Linked DNA regions of Homo sapiens: all the other regions are linked to region 4. The links are contacts of gene promoters, found by promoter capture Hi-C in blood cells and fetal thymus (Javierre and others, 2016). All regions are on one chromosome and are shown on one strand. Each heading gives the region's core, a stretch centred on a gene start or on the middle of the fragment in contact. The rest is flanking DNA. Distances are from core to core; before and after follow the strand shown. Region 1 overlaps ING3 (inhibitor of growth family member 3). Region 2 overlaps LOC124901733 (a long non-coding RNA gene). Region 3 has its middle 190 kb from the start of FAM3C. Region 4 holds the start of WNT16 (Wnt family member 16).

What was found. The method cuts DNA at HindIII sites, captures the fragments that hold promoters and counts their contacts. A CHiCAGO score of 5 or more calls a contact.
Region 1: a fragment that was not itself captured here is called in contact with the fragment with the promoter of WNT16 in region 4 in 2 of 17 cell types (naive B cells and total B cells); the score reaches 8.9 in naive B cells.
Region 2: a fragment that was not itself captured here is called in contact with the fragment with the promoter of WNT16 in region 4 in 2 of 17 cell types (naive B cells and total B cells); the score reaches 5.1 in naive B cells.
Region 3: a contact is called between a fragment that was not itself captured here and the fragment with the promoter of WNT16 in region 4, in 5 of 17 cell types (naive CD4 T cells, naive CD8 T cells, total CD8 T cells and 2 more). The highest score is 7.9, in naive CD4 T cells.

The regions. Positions count from the first base shown.
Region 1 is chr7:120,957,070-120,962,666 of GRCh38, reverse strand. The region is part of intron 4 of ING3 (inhibitor of growth family member 3); the gene reads right to left. Among named protein-coding and RNA genes, the nearest start is that of ING3, 9.1 kb to the right of the region's middle. The HindIII fragment of the contact is 9,620 bases long and covers 1-5,597 here.
Region 2 is chr7:120,859,860-120,865,667 of GRCh38, reverse strand. The region is part of intron 1 of LOC124901733 (a long non-coding RNA gene); the gene reads right to left. Among named protein-coding and RNA genes, the nearest start is that of TSPAN12, 4.6 kb to the right of the region's middle. The HindIII fragment of the contact is 1,242 bases long and covers 2,998-4,239 here.
Region 3 is chr7:121,586,632-121,591,768 of GRCh38, reverse strand. No RefSeq gene overlaps it. Among named protein-coding and RNA genes, the nearest start is that of FAM3C, 190 kb to the right of the region's middle. The HindIII fragment of the contact is 2,094 bases long and covers 1,299-3,392 here.
Region 4 is chr7:121,325,727-121,330,859 of GRCh38, reverse strand. WNT16 (Wnt family member 16) reads right to left here and starts at 1,860. Exons shown (of 4, transcript NM_057168.2): 1 at 1,473-1,860; 2 at 1,043-1,293. The coding sequence starts at 1,567. The HindIII fragment of the contact is 8,913 bases long and covers 1-5,133 here.

The DNA of each region.
Region 1 (5,597 bases), core at 1,038-3,537, 370 kb after region 4:
GATGTAGCGTGTAATATGTATATAAAGCACAGTGAGCAAGAATGTTAGGTTGAGGGGGTAGTGTTAGGGTGAGATAAAGACCTTTCTTTTTCATACCATACACCTTGCCCTAACTCACTTCACCTCTGCATTTAAGGATTGTTTCATTTTATTAAATATATTATTGATAAAGTTCACTACATATGAAAATGTTAAAAATAATGACAAGACTTTCAATACTAGATAGCTCAGAAAAGGCACTAGAACCTAAAGGGTTAATAACTCTAAAAACCAAATTCATAGTTAAAATAAACAAAGACAGAAAAGCCTTAACCACTTGTGGTAGGCATCTTTATAAGACGGCTTCCAATCATTCTTACTTCCTCATATGTAAAAGAGATTATGACCTGATTAATATTATAAGCAATTATTAGGCAATGAGCATTATTTTTCTTCTATTTACTACTGCTGTACTAAATCAAATTAGAAGTTGGAAAGTCCCATTGACCACAAGAATTAACTTAAGCTATAAAGCACTAGGATATTTAAACAATATTAAACAGCCATAATAAGAGCTGTGAACTTGCCTGAAATCCATCATGTGCATTCCCTCAACCTACATGATTCTGAACGGTTACAGCACCTCTTCTAGCTGATCACCATGTTGTCCCCACAGGCATCAAGCAAAGCAAGGATGTAAGTTACCTCACCCTTCCACAAACATCTGCTTTCATAAGACTGATTTACAATAGTAAAGAGGGTACTGATCCAATTGAGAGATTTTCCATTAGCCACAGATTCCTAAAACAGGGCTAACCACAGAGTCTAATTATTTCTTTTTTTCCCAGTTAATGTCAACAAGTGCTATAAACAAAGTTTCCTTGCCCTATAATCCCAAATCATATTCTACAACCCCAAATCATAACAGCTTTAAGTTTAAACTCCTATAATTTTTCTAGCCTCTTTAAAGACAAAGGATATTCTACCAACATTACTTGTTAACACACTCATGATCATAGCAAATTTAAGTCATACTTGGCCCCTCTGCACAAAACAAACAAAAAATCCTTCATCCTATAATATTTGCATAGAGTTGTAATCTTTGACTCTTTCTTTTTTGACTCTCTGGTTTTCTAATATTCACATTTAAAGTGTATCACTAATGGACCCAAACAAAACTAAATACAGCTTTTTTAAAGTCTCTACATGATCTACTGCTTCCAATACAATCAATTTATAAAATTTAGATGTCTAGCTTGCCCTATCGGAAGAGGCAATCAAGTCTGTTACATTCTAAGTTGAAATAGACAGCAGTAAGTTAAATTTCTAACCATGAAAAGGTCTAGTAATAGCGAGTAAAGAGGGTAAATTGGGGAAGAAGAAGAAACCATGATAGCAAAGTATTTCTCAGATAACAGGTCATGAAAATGATTCTTTATATCTCTAAATTAGATTTAAACTAGATGAAAATGTGACCTATTGTTATGCTGAAACAAATACTTGAGAGGCCTTAGCATATAACTCTGTCTAATCATCTTCCTGAAAGACAATAAGGACAGGACAGAAATCAAAAGGTCAAACTCACATATTTCCTTAATTAGAGTATCAGATGAAAACTCTCAAATTTATAGGTAAAATGTGCATCTGAAATATAACCATCTCAGGAACAGGCCAGGATATAAAAAAAGAAGCAAGTTCAAGGGTATTGAGCACTGCAAGAGACTGCTAAAATCATTCAAGCATTAACTAAAAGCTCAAATTTTATCAGGGTATGTATAAATCAACTTTATTAGGTATTGCAATCCAATACATCCTTATGACAGTGACATCTGGCTGAGAAACACAAATAAGTATTTAACAACTATTTATGAGTATCATGCTTCTAGAACAAAACTATTTTAACAGGATAGATTTTTGTGTGTGTTAGTCAAATTTCACTAAAACGGCTACTAAAATAAACTGTCAGTTTCTTCTACCGGAACCCTAAAACAAATTTCTTCATTGATAATATGTTGATAATATGTAGTTTGGTTTATTCCTTAATAAATGAGGTGACCAGTGCAGTGATGGTCACAGGAAAAAAAATGTTTACTACTGGTTTAAAAGTAAATAAAATATTTCAATGAAAAAATACAACAAAATGCAACGCCATATAAAACACTGAGGGATAAAATCAAACATAATTGCATACTATGGTGATGTACCATAAATTCTGTAAAAGTAATACATGCTTATTTAAAATTCCTATAATATAATGTTTAAGCAAAGGCATACCTACACAAAATCTCTTTTAAGGTCTATATTCCACGCCTCTGTTTAAAGTCCTTCACTGGCTTCCCACCGCTTTAGACTAAGAATCACTCTCCTCCTAGACTGGCTCGCAAGGCCCCCATGCATTAGCTCCTGCCTGCTTCCTTTCATGCTGCTCCTTTCCCATTACAGACCACAGACCAACCACCCCGGCCTCTCTCTTGGTTCAACTTGCCAAGTCTTTTCCACTCCAAACTTTGCCCTTGGTATACCACGTGCCTGAAACATTCTTTCCTTAGCTTTTCCAACAGGTGGTTCTTTCTTATTTTCCAAGTACCACCTCAAACGTCATCTCCTTAGACTACATTCTTAACAGCCTTCGCCAGTTATTCAATTGTCTCTCCCTTTCTCCCCCTTCCTCTCTTTCTACAATGTTTATTTCCTCCTGTGTACTTATCGAAATCTAAAATAGTCTTTATTTAATAGTTTGCCAGGCCAGGTGTGGTGGCTCACGCCTGTAATCCCAGCACTTTGGGAGGCCGAGGCGGGCGGATCACGAGGTCAGGAGTTCGAGACCATCCTGGCTAACACGGTGAAACCCCGTCTCTACTAAAAATACAAAAAATTAGCCGGGCGTGGTGGTGGGCGCCTGTAATCCCAGCTACTCGGGAGGCTGAGGCAGGAGAATGGCATGAACCCAAGAGGCGGAGCTTGCAGTGAGCCGGGATAGCGCCACTGCAGTCCAGCTTGGGCGAAAGAGTGAGACTCCGTCTCAAAAAAAAAAAAAAAAAAAAAAAAAAAAAAAAATGTGAGGAAGTGACAAGGAGTATAGGGTGACTTTCAGTGCCCTAATCTGAATGACTACAAGGTCAGTGTGGTTCATGTGAGATTTAGAAACAAAAAGTTGGTGATGGGGCAGGGGAGGGTAGTTAGAGAAGAAAAAGGAGATGCTTTGAGTTTTAAATTTCAAAACACTGAGTTCTAGGGCCTGGGAATAGTCAGCTAAGATTAAAAGACTCAAAGAAACAGCTTGGGCTTCAGGAATAATTAACGTATAATTGTTAACACTAAGAGAACACATGGAATTGCAATAGAGGAGTGTCTCTCAACTTGGGTGGTGTGCAAAGGTTGGGGATAAAACTTGCATTTGAAAGAACAGGTCTTTACGCTGTGGAATTTGTTCTTCCTGGCCCTCTTGGCAGGTAGAAGAGGGGAAGACAATCACCTTCATGTGAGAACCACTTGAAGAGTAAGAAACCATGTAGGTCAAGGACAGAACCCTGAGGAACACCATCATTATGAGCTGTACCCAAGAAGGAGACTAAGAAAGGTCACAAAGGTGGGAGCATCTAGAGCAGGCAGTCACATGGTAATACAAGGTCAAGAATGGCAAGACAAAACGAATGGCAATAAGCATTAAATTTACCAATAGGGTCAGTTAAAAAGAATTGAAGCTGTCTGATGAATTTAGCAATAAAGAATTCATTAAATGAAGTTATAGAGGATTAGTAAATAGAACCCCAATTGCCATAAATTTAGGAATAAATTGAAGGTAAGGGAGTGTCAAAGAGTCTGAATGAGAAATTAAGGAAGACTACACTAGCTAAAGCAGAGTCACGGTCACGACACGATTTATATTAGATTGCCTGAGTTCTTTTTAAATATGAGGAAGACCTGAGCATGTTTAAATGCTGTGGTATAGAAGCCAATAGAAAGAAAAGAGGCTAAAGATGAAAAAGAGAAGGCATAAGTGATGAAGCAAAGATGCAGCAAGTAAAAACATGCCCTAAGGCAGCAACAATGTGGAAGGTACCTGTAAGAAAAGTGGTCAAGAGCTCAACCAGTCTCTTGATTGAATAGGAAAGGGCTGATAAAATAGGAGGAAGTGTAGACGCAAGAAGTATCAGAGGCAGGGCAATTCCAAGTGATGATCAGGTTCAGTCTGTGGCGACTGAAGTGGATTAGCATTTACAAAAGCCAAAGAAGTAGATGACTAGGTAGTATAAGATGATTGCAACAGAGAACTGTGAACCGGGTACCAGTTTTTCAATCTGAGCCTCACCTAGAAGCCATTAAATTATAGTGATAAGAGGCAGAGGGTAACTGAGATGATTATCACTAAGTCTGAAAGAGAAGGGATTTTTTATATTAAGGATATAATGTTCACCTGAAATAGGATTAAAGTATTTAAAAAGAAAGGCAGGGAAGGAGAAAGGGAAAAAGAAAAAAAATAATAAAAAGGAAGAGGGTAGAGCAAAGGTGGGGGCAGAAAAGAAAGGGTGGGGGAAGAAAAAGAAGAAAAGACAAAAAGAAGCCTCAGAGATACTAGGAGAGTGAGAGACAGCAGCTTCCACTTGGCAGAGTTGAAAGGGAAGCAGTGGCTTCAGGAAAATAGAAAATTCCAGTTCAGGAAATGAGATGGACTGAGTTCTTAAAGAAGGAGCAAATCCTACTATCTGCCAAACTAATAGCATTGTATGTATTCTAATGCAAACCCTTCAGTAAGGTATAAATTAATATTGCTTTTTTACAGCAGGAAACTGTGGTTCAAGATTAAATAACTTTTCCAAAGTCATGGTGTCAGTGAAATGGCTGAGCTAGGGTTTGAACTCACATCTGCATGGATCCATTATGGACACTTGCTTTCTGTTGTATTTCTTATGCTTTATTAAATTTACTACCTCGCCTTTATTACTTCACTCTTTAGCCTTGGAATCTATCCCTTCTCAATTAATTTCTGAATTTGTACTTTCCTTCTGTTTATGCCATTATCTCTGAGTGAAATGCTTTCCCCTCAATACAATACCTAATTCAGGACCTTGACTTTCTAAACAAACTCTGTTCAAAACTCTTCCTATACCCTCTAAGAAATCAGTAAGTAACTCTGCATGACTTACTTCAATGTTTTTCAGTAGACACCCCTTAATATTCAACTGGTTAATGTTTATTACATGTTTCTGTATGGATTCTCCACTTTAGTTTGCAGGTATGTCTGCCCCACAACAGTAGTTTACAGACACCTTGAGGACAAGAGCCATTTCTAGTATTACTTTTTTTTTTTTTTTTAAGACAGAGTCGCTCTCTGTCGCCCAGGCTGGAGTGCAGTGGCGCGATCTCTGCTCACTGCAAGCTCCGCCTCCCGGGTTCCCGCCATTCTCCTGTCTCGGCCTCCCGAGTAGCTGGAACTACAGGCACCCGCCACCAGGCCCGGCTAATATTTTTGTATTTTTAGTAGAGATGGGGTTTCACCATGTTAGCCAGGATGGTCGCGATCTCCTGATCTCGTGATCTACTCTCCTCGGCCTCCCAAAGTGCTGGGATTACAGGCGTGAGCCACTGCGCCCGGCCTAGTATTTACTTTTTATTCC
Region 2 (5,808 bases), core at 2,369-4,868, 470 kb after region 4:
CTACAGCAATACTTTCAGATTCTTTGTGACTTCACTCAAAGGCAGCTATGAACATAGACTTTTGGACAGGGAAGAAATCTTTTCTTGAAGACTGTTCACCCTTTAGAGAAAAGAACAGCATGTATGAGTTGGAAAGATGATCCATAAATGGATTCAGAACTGGAGAAAAAGTGTTTCCTCCTTCTCTCCCCATCTCTAGAATCCCCAGAGGGATTGCAAGGGGAAAACATTTTCACCCACTCCTTGTGGGAAAGAGGCTGGCCTATTCTATTTAAACCTTAAAGGGCAGTGTGACCCCAGCTAAATTTAGGCTCATAATTACATATTACTCATGACCACTTTCGGTGGTAGGTATACAGATAAGGAAACTGAGGCTTGTGGACATGAGATCATTTGCTCATAATCCCATTACTAACATTTGGTAAAGCCAGCATTTAAATCCAGGTCTGACTTCAAACTCCTGCTGTTGTTTGTTTATGTCATTTTTCTGCTCATATCAACATGTTTCAGGATTGTCATTGCCTCTGAATAAACTGCAAACTCCTCAGGACAGCCTTTAAGATCTTCCTTAATCTGGAAACCTCTAACTTTTAAAATCTTAACATTACCACTTTTAAAAGTAGGGTCTAGAGAAGTTTCTCTGGGATGGTGTTTTTTGCTTTTGAATCTTGCTTTTCTAGGGACCTAAGTTCATCTCCCTGGATCAACTTCACCGAGTGTTGGCAGAGACTGGCTAATTTGTCTTGACATGGACTGGGGTCTTTCCTTACTTGCGTGACACTTTTCATGTTTTTTGCTGACCGATTCCTGTGCCACTGAGTTTTCTTACCATTTGCTGGGATTCTGTGATATTGCCATCTGTCTTCCTGCCATAATTTCCACCTAGTGCTTGCCAACACATTCCCTTCATACTTGGTTCTGCTTGACTGCCTGAATTTACATTGCCTTTTGATGGGTCTTCACTCAAATTCCAGTCACACCCTAATTGATTGGTCTAGTTTTTAGGTTCTGGCCATCCATGCCTGTTCCCATAACTGAATAAGGCACGTTTGTAAAAACTTGGATGTCTAGCAAATGTGATAAATTCATGGGATAGTTGGGAACACTGGTCTGAATAGAAGGAAAGTTGTGGAGAAAAGGAAAAAGGGGAAATGATTTATGATGTCATTTGCATATGTGCAAGCTAGTGACAATAAAAGGAAGAAAAGATCAAGAAAGAGAGCCCACTTGAGCAACATGATTTTGGTAGCTATATTCTCAGTTTTTATGTCTCACCCGAGGAAGAGCTGTTGAGACCTAGTTAATTAAGTCAACATATGGTCAGCCTTGCAGCCCAAGCTGGCTGCTGCCATTTTTTAAGCCAAAGTGAGAACCAGCTCATCTCCATTTCGGCAGAATTGGTAAGATTCTTCTCTATGAACCAGTGACTCGTAAAACACCACCAATATAAAACTCACAACAAAATGTATAATTTAATTTCTAGCAGTCATTTTGGAAAAATATGTATGTTTCTTAAATCAAACATACTATATCCCAAGTATTTTCTCTAGTCAGTTATAGGGAATAATATTGCTGATAAAGCCAAGAAATAGATGAAAATTATAGAAATATGTATAGTCAATAAACTAACTGTATGAGTTATTTATGGGTGTCTTATGTTGCTGACATGATATATCTTCCTTTATTGCTGTGAGTAGTAATCAATCAGTTAACATTGCTTTCTACAAAAGAAAACTAACCATACAAAGATAATAGAACATAACGGCAATTGCTAGAAATAATAATTCTTTGCAGCGAAAACAAATGCATTGAGAAGAAATGCATTCTTCTAGAAGAAACCAAGGACACTAACTTTTTTTCTTTTTCATCAGTCAATCATTTCTACATTCAAACCATGAAATTTGAAATGAGAATTTACAACATCTCCAGTTTTCCATACATGGTTATTGCTAGTATACATACACACAAATAATAATCAAATGGTTGTTTTACACGTGGTAGGATGAGGACACTTGTGAGTTCGGATTAGCCAGCTAGAAATAATTTTAAAAACAAAAGATTTTATCTAGTGTCACAAACAAGTGTTTTATTTAGTACAGCATTGGAGTAAGCTGGAAGTTTTAAAACACACCAAGAAAATGAAAAGAGCAGCAGGCGAAGACAAATATCTAATATTCTTGGTAACTATTTGATTATCTTTCCCCAGTTGTATTGTGGGTGTGACAAAAAGCTGATGTAGTGGAATAACAGTATAATTCCTGAGGGATCTTTCTGAGAAAAGTAGAAATTGGCAGCTGTTTGTAAATAGACGTGTATTCCTTCCTTTTCCTTACATTTTGTTTCAAATAACTGAAAATTAAGAGAAGAGTTCTTTGTTATTGTTGTTGTTGTTGCTGTTTGAGAGAGAGAGAGAGAGAGAGAGGGTCTTGCTCTGTTGCTAAGGCTGGAGTGCAGCAATGCAATAATGACTCACTGCAGCCTCGACTTGCTGGGCTGAAGAGCTCCTCCCATCTCAGACTCTTGAGTAGCTGGGACTACAGGTGGGCACACAGCATCTGGATAATTGTTTTTATGTTTTGTAGAGATGGGATTTGCTATGTTTCCCAGGCTGGTCTCCAACTCCTGGCCCAGCCTCCCAAAGAGCTGGGGTTTCAGACATGAGCCACCAAGTCTGGACAAAAGATCTCTTATATTCTATAAATTTTGCTTTCTGAAGAGGAAGCATGCTAATGAAGTTATAAATTTTTGAGAGCCAAAATTATGGTAGAACTCTTGGTATCTCCTAGCACAGTTCTGAGTTTGTAGTAACAATTCAATAAATATTTATTAAATCTGTGGGTGAAGTGAGTCCAAATTTCTAAACTTTGCATGAAGGTCAGGTTTCAATAAAGTTTAAGAGAAAAGTTTTCTAGGATTTCATAGGAGGGTACTGATTTGGGCACTTCTTTAAAGAATTACCTGGTGTGTAAATGCAAATGACGATGCTGAAAGTAAGCTTATGGCATGGGATGGAAATGATGTGATACGAGTTTTCTCAGGGTCCTTTGCTATTGCCATGAGGTTCCTGCTTCAGTGGTTCTTTCAATAACTAAGAAACTTTGCTAAGTAGTGCCCCAAAATGGTTGGCTGAGAGCTGGGTTGTCCTAGCAGTGAACAGGAGAGAGGATGGTACTATGCCTTCCTTTCTCTATCCCTCAGTTCAAATAAAAATCTGACTGTGTTCAGTTATCTACCTTCCTCTCTTTGGCCCTGTGCTTTAGAGAAGGGCTGTCCCAGGCACAGGTAATACATCTTGATTGGTTTAAAACCTGGCCAGTCATGGTGGCTCACACCTGTAATCCTAGCACTTTGGGAGGCTGAGGTGGGTGGATCACCTTAGGACAGGAGTTTGAGACCAGCCTGGGCAACATGGTGAAACTCTGTCTCTACAAAGACAAAATTAGCACGACGTGGTGGTGCATACCTGTAGTCCCAGCTTCTCGAGAGGCTAAGGCATGAGAATCACTTGAACTCGGGAGGCAGAGGTTAAGTGAGCAGAGATGGAGCCACTACACTCAAGCCTGGGTGACAGAGTGAGACTCTGTCTCAAACAAAACAAAACAAAACAAAACAAAACAAAACAAAACAAACCAGTTATGGTAGAACCATAGTTCTTGTGAATAATTGGTAGATATATGAGTATGTGACCAGGTTCTAGCCAATCAATCAAAGGGATAATCTGCTGCAGAACTCCTGGGAGAGGTTTGCTAGATCCTAAGAGAAACTCATAGGAGAAAATACCTTCTTCCTTTGGAAGTAATGGTAACTGAAAATGATGCTTGAATTTGCACAGCCATCTTGTGACCATAAGAGGAGGTACCTGAGTATAGTATGATTACTCATTGTGTGTGTCAGGAGAGTAAGGAGGAAAAAGAACTGATTCCTTGATATCACTACTGGGCAGATGAATCGCTATTCCTGGACTCATTGTTATGTGAAACATATTTGTTTTTGTGGCTCTTTGAGTGCATTTGCTAGTTTGCATAGGGAGGCCAGATTCAACTAATACAAATGTAGGGTTTGCAATTCAATTTGAATTTCAGGTAGACATTGAATAATTTTTTAGTATATGTATGTCCAGTGCAATATTTGTCCCATGCAACATTTGGGACATGCCTATACCAAAAAATAAAAAATTGTTGTTTATCTGAAATTTAAATCTAATGAGGTGTCTTGTATTTTATCTGGCAATCCTAAGCTTACAGTAGAAAGCAGTCTACTTAATTCAGTAATGAAAGGATTTTCTCAGGTCTTATTAGGTCTGTATACTCTTTTAGAAGTGAGGTGAAAGTAGATTTACCAGTCATAGTTTAAGTACACATATTTGAATTTCAGCTTCATATTCTCGAAAACTAACTTTAAAAAGTTCGAAAATTTTCCTCTTAAGTCTTGTCCAACCAGATTTGAAATTTTATTGTAATGCAGATAAACAGTGGAAAGAATCAGACAGATCTTAGAATCTCAGCTTCTTTATTTACTACCTGTGTGGGTCTGGCAAAAATCAGCTATCTGAATTGATTTCAAGTATCTCAACATATAGTTATGAGGAATTAATAAGATAAATTGTGAGAAGCACCTATTATGTCAGACACATGTAATTTGTTCAAAACACATTAGGTGTCTATCCCATATTAATTGTAAAGTACTGGCTTAGGAGTACTTGTGAGGGTCTTGTACTAAGAAGGAATAGCAACTCATACATCCAAACTCCTGTGTTATCCTTTTTCTCTCCACAACTTTAGCAGAATGAATAGAATAAGATATGAACAAACAAGCTGCCATACGGAGTGAGGAACTTGTATTCTCTTACATATAGCTGAGTTTTACTCCTGACACTGGGACTGACATGTATGTGATTCCTTGTAAATGCTTATTTTATTACTTTTTGATGTCATTATTATTGTTATTATTATTATATAATAAGAAAGGATAGTTTTGCCTTTTCTTGGAGGGTAAGAACTTGTCTTAGTATCTTCAGCATGAGGCACAGTAGATACCACCACTGAAATGATACTTATTGGAGAACACCTGGCCACAGAATTGGGTTCCTGACTAATGGGTAGTAAATAGACCATACAATTTTCCTAATATGTTATTACATATTCAAATTTTTATGTGCATATTATGATATTTCTATCCTCCTTTTGTTCACACACACAAAAAAACAGATCTCACAGAGAAAAATATAGAACCCTCAGAATGACAGCTGCGATGTGAAGTCTTACTGTGCTTCCACAATTCTGGGAAAGAGAAGAATTGGAGAGGGAGGGAAGAACAGCTGCCTTCAAGTAGTTGAAGGGCTGTCATATGGGAGGAAGGCTTGCTCATGCCATGGACTCCAAGGGCGGAACTAAGGTTGAAGGGTAGAAGTTAAAAGGTGGTATGGTCAAGTTTAAGCAATAAAAACTGCCCATTACTGCAATGTCTCAAATGTGGTGAGGTCTCCTCTACTGAAATGTTGATTCACTGTCTCTGATGACCATTTATCAGGAATATTAGAGCAGTAACTACAGCTCTGTTTTCTTCTTAACTTGTAAAATGGGGATAATAATCCCAATTTATCGACTCACAGGAGAGGGATTTGATCCAACGAAATCTAAAGAGACCCTTTTGCTAGTTTTTAGGCAGCTGTAAAGCCCTCGTTGCAGGGTTTTCAAATTTTGCTGCAAACTAGAATTACCTTGGGAGCTTGGAAAACCCTGTGTGTCTAGGCCTCACCTGCAGAGACTCCGATTTAAGTGGTATCAGGCATGCCAGAGAATTAGGGTT
Region 3 (5,137 bases), core at 1,096-3,595, 260 kb before region 4:
CTTAATACTGGTTACTACATCTCTGACCAGCTAAGGAATACACATTCTTCTTTTGTTAAGTTGTCCTGTGCCCAAAAGATAGGGTCAACACCTTCAAATGTAAATTAGTCTACCAGTTAATTATCTCATTGTATCAAGATTTGGATCAAATAATTTCCAGAGGGAAAGAAAAGATTGGCTTGATTCTGTAAACCACTGATGATATTGAAACTTGAAACTTGGTTTTACATTTATTTATTTATTTATTTATTTATTTATTTATTTATTTATGTTTTTAACTCTGTTTCTCATTTGAATATCCCTAGTGAGAAGTCTGACCTGGGGTAGCATGTGTGGAAATAAATACTACAAGCTTATTTTTACTGTAATTCAAACTTGGTTAAAAATTTTAAAAAGCATAGATCACAAACATAATGATAGTTAATGAGAAAACTTGAAATATGAGAATTCAAAGTACTAAGCTGGTCACGAAGCTGTAGTAAGGATAAAAAAGAGGCAATATTTATATATTAGTTACCATAAAGTTATAAACAACATAAAAAGCACCCGGAGGCAGGTCTAAATTCCAGTTTTATTAAAATTTATTAAACTGGAATATCATGTCATCCTGAACAGAGTTTCTATGTAGCTTGTTTATGAAGAAGGATGCAAGGAGATAACTTTGCCATGACACCCTGGCAGTCTTGTACACATCCATCTAGATGAACACTTGAACTGCAGCTTACCTGTGTCTGGGCAGAACACCTTGTGATCCTCATGTAATAAGAGAGGATGGAGGGTCTGAAGCCACCTCCTACTCACCTCCCTATCTCCTCTGGGAGACTCTAATGACAAGAGTTTCTCATCAACTCCTAGACTTGGAGGAAGTATGGGGCCTTCTGTTCCACCGTCTCAGAATGAAGCTGCAGAATATAAGGCCACTTCTCTGTGGTCTAGAATTGGCTCCTCAACTATGGGTGCCTCACGACTCACAGTGCAGCCATCCAGCCCCTTTGATTTGGGTGGTGTTGGGGTTTTATTGTTTGTTTTTGGTTTTCTGGTGTGTAAAACAAGGATCACAGGGAGCTGGCAATTTTGGCATACTCTCCTCTTCACTGTTTATGTAAGTTACAAACTGTCTAAATCTAAGAGTGGCTCCTTGTATCTTTACCCAGCCAATGAGTCGAGCCTTGAACTTGACCTTGCCTTGCTTTGTGTTTGTAACAAAGAAGCCATCAAAATTTTTCTAACTACAAAAGCATTTTAGTTTTGTTCATATGATTTACCTCTTAAACTTAAGGTTGTGCTACCTCAAAGCTTCTTTATTAAAAATTTTATTTTGGTAGAATATTTGTTATAGAACATTGTATTTGCCTATATGAAATGATAAACTATCTATGAGAGGAAAAAATGCCTATATGAAATGATAAATTATCTATGAGAGGAAAAAATTCACTATGAGAGGAAATAGTTAATTAATTCAATTAACTAATTGATTAATTAATTAACTAACCTTGTGATAATGAACCTATGGACTGATGTCCTTATAATTAATCTCACTGCTTTATAACTTGAGTAAATTCTACTGCTACAGAGGGAATTTTTTCTAGACTTTCTTTTCTGGGGATTGAGTAAATAAAACAAATGATTTTACCATAAATCCAGTTTTCAAAACACCATAGAAATCTTCACTTTTTCACATGCCAGCTTGACTAAACAGACTTTAACTAAACAGTAAGAAGATTCAACTTGAATTTTTGAATTAGATAGTGGGAAGATGCAATACAAGGGACAGGAATCCAATCCTTGAATGTTGATGAGTTTTCTTGCTGTGACTAGTTTGGCAGATGAGAAATAGTTGCAAAAACTTCAAGTCGGTTAATGCAAGACTATCTGATTATTGAATAACATACTGAGGATGAGAGGGGTTTTTTAATGCTTATCATTATCAATTTAATTTGCATTTGCTATATTCACTATTTTCTTCCAAACATAGAATTTAAACTGAAACCATAGGCTAAAGGAGGCACAGCACCCTTGAGTTAATGCAGAAAACATTATAGAGATTGCTCCATCTATCTACAATTTCTCTGTCTGATATCTACCCATCAAAGTGATAAAATATTTACATTCATCCATCAATTCAAACAACATGATTCCCTTACCTCCTTGTATATATTCCTATTCCCTTACAAAATATGTAAGTTATTATTATTTCAAAGTGCTTATAAATACTAGCAGTTCTATTTTTGTTTTATGGGAAATTCTACTTTAACACCATGGAGTAAAATACCTGACAAAATGATTGTAGAAACCAATTTGCATTCAGGAAGGTCGATGAGCTATGTACTTGCTTGCACCTCTGAGATAATATCTGTTGCTGAATCCTCTTAAGGTATGTAAACCAAAAGTATCTGAGATAGGCCTTAAACAATTTGGAAAGTTTATTTTGCCAAGGTTAAGGATATGCCTGTAACACAGACTCACAAAGTCCTGATCTGTGCCCAAGGTGGTTGGGGTTTTATACATTTTAGGGAGACATGAGACACCAATCAATACATGTATCATGTACATTGGTTCACTCCATAAAGGTAGGACAACTCGAAGTGGGGTGGGGGACCAGGGGGTGGCTTCTGGGTCACAGGTAGATTTTTAAATTTTCTGATTGGCAATTGGCTGAAAGAGTTATTATCAATAGAAAGGAATGTCTGGCTTACAATAAGGGATTGTGAAGACCAATGTCTTATACAGCAGATGAAGCCTACAGGTAGCAGGCTTCAAAGATAATAGATTATAAATGTTTCTTATCAGACTTAAAGAGGCTGGTCTATTAGTACTTCCAAAGGGGAGGAGGATATAATGAGGCATGTCCAAGTCCTCTTTCCCATCATGGCTTGAGCTAGTTTTTTCAGGTTAACTTTAGAATGCCTTTGGCCAAGAGGAGGGATCTATTCAGATGGTTGAAGGACCTTAAAATTTTATTTTTGGTTTACATTTGTATGGTTCAACTTCTTCCTTCTATCCACCAAATCTACAACAGCAAAAATCCATCCAGATGCTATTTTTTCATCCTCCACCTGTTACTAGGTAGTGAAACCCAAAATAATATGCACATTTGGGAATCAAGAGAAATGTCGAATCTATATGAAATGATAAACTATCTATGAGAGGAGAGAAAAGTCAAGAGAGAAGTTGAATCTTCCCAGGATCCAAAGAAATTCTAGTGCTGCATGTCTTCAAGATGGTAATATACAGACTATTCCAGTGTCAATCGAGGCTTAGAAGTGACTGTCCAAAGCAACTATCACATAAAGAAGTAGTTTTTAAACATCCCCATGCACTCAGAAATGAACCAACAAAAAGTAAGACAAAATGAGAAACATTGCTGTGTGTGAAATGAGGGATTTGAAGCTTTAAGGAATTCTATTAATCCAATATTCTGTCACTCAACCATGTTCTTTCCCATTTTATAGCTTTAGCATTAAGTTAGATAGGAAGGAAAATTAATCCTGGGTATGGCAGGGGAAAAGTTTTCTAGGTTATTATTTGCAGGTCATTTAAACTGTCTATACAGATGATTAAAATGAAGTCTCTGGCCTAGAAAGAAAAACCTATGTAAATGAAAAGGCCATTGACTCCTCCTCCCCAAATAGAAGTAAGAAAGAGAAAGGAAAAGGAAGAAGAGGAAGAAGTAACTAAGAGCCTAGAAACATGAGAAACAGGTAAATGTGGGATTAAAAGAAGCCAGAATTACAATAATAATTCTTAATATTTAGCCAAGGCTTCTGTAACACTACCATATTGCAAAACATGTTGGGCCTAGTACCTTACTTAATATATGGGAGGCATCTATTGGCTCCTTTGTAAAGAAATTGTCTCCAGTCTGCACAAATGCACCTTACAGTGGAGACAGAAGTTGAAGCTTGATCTCTGACTCCAGGGCCAGTGGTTTGGAGTTTATAACTCTGCAAGTGTTTATAATCTGGAGCTTTAAAATCTGCCACACTGATGGCTTGATTTAAATTAGCAACCCACCATGATTGCTGTTGGGAGCAATCCACCACGGGTATTCTCTATTCAATGAGCAGCCAGTGAACTCCAATGAATTGTGAGGTTTTGGCCTGTCACTGGCAGTCAGAGAGCAGGGACTCTGGCTCTCATGTGGCCACAAGGGCTAGAGGGAAATGTCCTTAGGCTGTTCCCACATAAAAATCTGTACTTTTTTAAGGGAAAGAAAATACCAATATGACAACAAATGAAGTGGCGTCGTTGTCTAGGGTAAATACCCGAGGTTTGTCATCTCATGCCAAGGGAATTGAGACACAGACGCACAAGAAGTGAGATTAAGAGCAGAGGTTTAATAGGCGAAAGAAAGAGAATAGCTCTCTCCCACAGAGACAAAGAGGCGCCCCCGAGTGGGTCTTCCAGTTCCATGGTGAAAAGCACAGGGTTTTCTTGTAAATTTGTTTGAGTTCATTGTAGATTCTGGATATTAGCCCTTTATCAGATGAGTGGATTGCAAAACTTTTCTCCCATTCTGTAGGTTGCCTATTCACTCTGATGGTAGTTTCCTTTGCTGTGCAGAAGCTCTTTAGTTTAATTAGATCCCATTTGTCAATTTTGGCTTTTGTTGCCATTGCTTTTGGTGTTTTAGACATGAAGTCCTTGCCCATGCCAATGTCCTGAATGGTATTGCCTAGGTTTTCTTCTAGGGTGTTTATGGTTTTAGGTCTAACATGTAAGTCTTTAATCCATCTTGAATTAATTTTTGTATAAGGGGTAAGGAAGGGATCCAGTTTCAGCTTTCTATATATGGCTAGCTAGTTTTCCCAGCACCATTTATTAAATAGGGAATGCTTTCCCCATTTCTTGTTTTTCTCAGGTTTGTCAAAGATCAGATAGTTGTAGATATGTGGCATTATTTCTGAGGGCTCTGTTCTGTTCCATTGGTCTATATCTCTGTTTTGGCACCAGTACCATGCTATTTTGGTAACTGTAGCCTTGAAGTATTGTTTGAAGTCAGGTAGCGTGATGCCTCCAGCTTTGTTCTTTTGGCTTAGGATTGACTTGGCAATGCAGGCTCTTTTTTGGTTCCATATGAACTTTAAAGTAGTTTTTTCCAATTCCATGAAGAAACAAACAACCCCATCAAAAAGTG
Region 4 (5,133 bases), core at 611-3,110:
TTCTTTCCAGATGTTTAGTTTGGAGTAGAAACAGTTTCATGCCCGCTGTCCAATAAACCTTTTCAACAGCTGATGCATTTCAGCAACTGTGAAAAACACATCTATTTTTTTTCTTTCTGTCTCTTTTTTTTTTTTTTTTTTTTTTCTCTCTACGGGGACCAGGGCTCCTTCGGAAGGGCGTGCCGGCCAGAACGCCGCGGGGGAGGTGCGCGGCTCGGCGGGGGTGCGCGCAGGGACTGCGTGGACAAGGGTCAAAGGCGGAGGGGGAACGGAAATGAACATGAAAAACGACAGCGCATCCTTCAGCGCCCCAGTCCTAACATTCTTTGGATCTGTTGATATTCCAGGAACAATCCTGGCTCCCTGTACCTTTATCCTTACCAAGTCACTACGCACGTGGAAGTGGAACTTTGTTTTCCTGCAGCTTCCCGCGCCGCGGGAGTGCGCCGAGGAGGGAAAGATAGAAAAGCCAAAGAAACGAGAAGCGCACAAGTGGTCCTGCTCAGGTTAGCCGCACGTTGGGTGGTCGCGGACAGTCGCTTTAAAAGTCACCATTATTCTGTCAACTCGGTGCTCCTAGGAGCCAATAAAGGTGGGGCTTCGCTGCAATTAGCCACTTGTCCGGGGTTTGGTGCGCAGCGGAGTTGGTTAAATCAAAGCAGATGCGGCAGCCGCATTCCCCGCTGCCGACATCATGTTTCTCCAGCTGGTCACCCACGTAGGGGGGCGCTACGGGGTCCGAGGGGGTCGGCGGGGTAGGAGAATTAGAGTTTTTTTTCCAACTCTGGCGGGGCACCGCAGGAAAGAGGAAGAGCTCCAGCCCCTAGAGCTCCGCTCTGGAACTGGGGAGTCACCTCCCTCCAGGCTCGCACCTGCTCCCCAGGTCTGGCCTTTGTAGCTCTCAATCCCCGTGCACTAAAGGGCTTCTTCTGGAACTTAGAGAGCTACAGGACCACGTAGCACTATTTACTTTATTTGCAGGAACCGGTGGAGGAGTTGTCGCCTTCCGTCCCCCACCAACCCCTAAGGACCCAGGACTCACCGCTGCTCAGCTCGTAGCCAAAGAGGGGGCTGGCGCCCATCGGGGCGGTAGTGGCGGCGGCGGTGATCATGCAGTTCCATCTCTCGTGTCTGAACTGGCTCCCGCACTCCTGAATGCCCAGCCGGGCGCCCTCTCGGATGCTCGGCAGCAGGTACGGTTTCCTCTTGCACAGCTCCTTCTGGCGGCTGTTCAGCGGCAAATTGGCGCAGCCCAGCTTCTCTGGAACCCCGAAGGAGGCAATGCCCAACCACCTGTAAGACACGGCCGCCCGTAGCGTTAAGCCGCTCCCCAATTCCAGATGTTTTCCGAAAAATTAGGTCACTCGTCTAAGGGTCCCCGCCCTTCTCCCCCAGCCTCAGTTGAAAGTTCCCTAGGATTGGGCACCCCTTTTGCCACCTACCCGATGCTTCCCTGCCACCTCCATACTCACATCCAGTTTCCTTGGGCTCCGTAGGGGAACAGCACGAGCAGGGCTGCCCACAGCGCGCACAAGCGGGCCAGTCCCAGGAGCGCCGCCCTGTCCATCGCCCCCGCATGGAGTCCCCCAGCCCAGCCGCTCCTCTTTTGCACCCCCTCCCCAGAGGCCCTTCGGGCCGCAGGTCAGTTGTCCAGCACCAAGTTATCCCTCGCCCTCTTCCTCCTTGCATACAACATTAAAAGGCCAGCAGTGATAGGGACTCTCAGCAGCTTCCCCCTCGTTTGCAGGGAGCTGTAGGAGAGATGGAGAGAGCAGCCTGGGGATCTCCTCCTGCGCAGGGGTGGAGATGTGCAGGAGATGCGGGAGCGCCCCTCGCATTCCTAGGTGAGAAACTTCTGTTGATGTATCCGCGTCTCCATCGCCCCCGGCCTCTCCTCCCATCTCCTCCCCCTGGCCGCGCCTGGAGCCTGATTGGCTGAGCAGCGGCCCCGCATCTCATCATCTCGGGACCTCAGGCTCTTATTGGTGGAGAGCGGCTCCGCGGGGGGCGCTCCGGGCACTGGCCTCAGGGACAGCGTGTCCAGACCTGGGTGTGTCATGACCTTTCCTGCTGTCACAGTCTCCTTAGAACGGGTCGTTGTGGGGTTGATTCAACCCGAAGACTAACAGGACGCTCTGTCTTAGCAACCTTGGGGGAAAGCGTGGGTTTGATGAGTCCCACCCATCCCACCAACATCTGGGTTACCCTCTGGGTGTAGTGGCTGGAAAATGTCACTGACCTTTTTTTCTTCTCCTTCACCTCACAGGAGAATAATCTTTTTGAGTCAGAGTTGGTACCGAACAAATTAACCTTCCAGTCCCCTGCTTGAGGTCCCACTGTCAGGAGACTTTAGAGAGTGGGTGAAGTGCTGTCAGGCTTACAATCACTGTCATTTATGTATGCATTTATTTTGAGCGAAAGAGAAGATTCCAGTCTAGCATCTCATCTGCCATATTTCAATCGTGCTCTGTGATTTCCTTTTCCCTATTTGTCTTATTTCCTGCAGTCCCTGAGAACGCTGTAAGTCCCCTGCAGAAGATGGGGACAAAGAAAGTGAGAGGTTTCTGGAGAGTTCTAGAGTACATGAGAGATGTGCTCTGATCTTTTTCTCCAGTCCTACCTTACGATTCTCATGGTGGGAGGGTCCCTGCCCTTCTCCCCCAACCTCAGTTGAAAGTTCGCTAGGATTGGGCACCCCTTTGCCACCTACCCGATGCGTCCCTGCAGGACAGGGCTACACATGGAAGACACATTTTTAAAAACGTACTTATTAAATACCTGCTGTGTGCCTAGTCCTGTGGGAATTTATAAAGACAAGCTCTCTTCCCACAACTGTACAAATAAACCATACACAAGTGTAAAAGAAAATACGTTTAGATGATCAGTAAGAGAGATTAAAGAATCTAGCAGGGTACTCCCTGGAGCCGAAGATAGTTCAGAAGCAGGAAGTGTTCCAGTTACTGGCAGATTTGGAAGGTTAGTTAATCAGTGTTTTGTAGGATGGAAGGTCTCCGAGAGTTATCTGAAGGCAAGTGCAACGTGTTTAGCTGTGGTATTGGGAAAGCCTGCCTCACCTAATTAGACACAAGAAATGTTTCTAAGAAGCATTATCTGTCCTTAGAGATCTTTTGAAGTGTTAATACATTCCCATGGTGGACGTATCAGCTCAGTGGGTACCCAAAGCCAAAATTACTTAAATAAAGGATTTGGGGCCAGGTGCAGTGGCTCACACCTGTAATCCCAGCACTTTTGGAGGCCAAGATGGGCGGATCACCAGAGGTCAGGAGTTCAAGACCAGCATGGCCAACATGGTGAAACCCTGTCCCTGCTAAAAATACAAAATTATTTGGGTGTGGTGGTGCATGCCTGTAATCCCAGCTACTCGGGAGGCTAAGACAGGAGAATTGCTTGAACCTAGGAGGTGGAGGTTGCAGTGAGTTGAGATAGCGCCACTGCACTCCAGCCTATGGCACACAGTGAGACTCCGACTCAAAAAAAAAAAAAAAAAAAGGATTAGATAGCATTAGCTGCTTATCTCCTATATCAATCAGTGAGCAATAAAAGCTCACTGAAATTTTCATCCTATCCCATTCACTCCCTTATCCAACAAATGTTTATTGAGTGTACACTATGTACCAGGTTCTAAAGCCACATTTTAAAGAGTCGAGGAGTCAAGTTGATGATAGGATGTAGATACTGATCCAGAAATATTTTGGCTAACGGCTAGTGGCCTCTCTGAAAGTCAGAGCCTTCATCCAAGCTCACTTTATTCTGTGAGCTTCTCCAAGAGGGACAATGGCGGATTCATTGCTGTACCCCTGCCATTGGGCCTAGTACATAAGATCCTGTTTTTGAACAAAATTTATTGAGTGAATTAACAATGAGGAACATCCTGAGTGGATATGTAAGAGGCCTAAATGCTGGAACTACAGTTTTTACTTCATTTCAAGGGGAATTGGAAGTGGGGAGGCAATCTCCGGGTTGGGGGTGCTGGACAATATCCATACCTTAGGCTGATTTTAGGGCCAACGGTGGTAGATGTTTTAAAGAGGTGTTTGATTTTTTAAAAAATCAAAAACATATATTGAGTCTCTGTTATGGGTTAGAAAGTGGGGATAGCACTTACTCAAATGATCATGGAATTCACAGTCTACTTGGCAAGACAGACAAGGGAGCATGCAGCTATAATACGTGCAATAAATGTACAAAGTAGAGTGTGCTGTGAACACACAAAGGAAGATTACTTATTTCAGTCTTGGGGATCAGAGTGGGGAGGAGACACTTGAATGTTACCTTCATTATTATTCTGGGAATCTAGCACCATCTACGCATCCAGATAAAGCCTTTGGGGTGCACTCAGAGGGTATTCTGTCCTGAGAGTCAGAGACCACTGTGTCAAACATTTTCAAACACAAGACACAATTTTAGGGCGTGAGTGGTCTTGCATCTCTTTTGTATGGGCTAGAGCCTTAGGGGTCATTCTGTCCATATCTCCAAAACAAAGGAGACATATTTCTAGGAGCTGACCCAGCTGAGGAAGCAGATTTTTCATTCAGTGAACAGATATTTGAATGATAATTTTGTTCCAGGCATTGTGAACTTTCATGTTCTGAGAGCTGCCATACACTCCCAAATCCCTCTTACTGTCTTTATTTGTCTCTCTGTCTCTGTCTCATTCTCCATCTTTCTCTATACAAAATTGATACTCACTTTACAGATGAGGAAATTAATTTGGGGAGATTAAGAAACTTGCTCGAGGTTACTCAAAAACAATCAACCTTTAGAGGCCCCTCCTTTTTTTTTTTTTTTTTTTTTTTTTTTGAGATGAGGTATCATTCTATTGCCCAGGTTGGAGTGTAGTGGCTCTATCATGACTCACTGCAGCCTCAACTCCCAGGCACAAGCGATCCTCACCCTCAGCCTCCTGAGTAGCTGGGACTACAAGTGTGCACCGTTATATTCAGCTGTATTTTTTATTTTGTGTAGAGACAGGGGTCTCACTATGTTGCCCAGACTGGTCTCAAATTCCTGGCTCAAACAATCCTCCTGCCTCAGCCTCCCAAACTGCTGGGATTATAGGCATGATCCATGGCACCTGGCCAAGACCCTGTTTTTTTCACTACAACATACTTC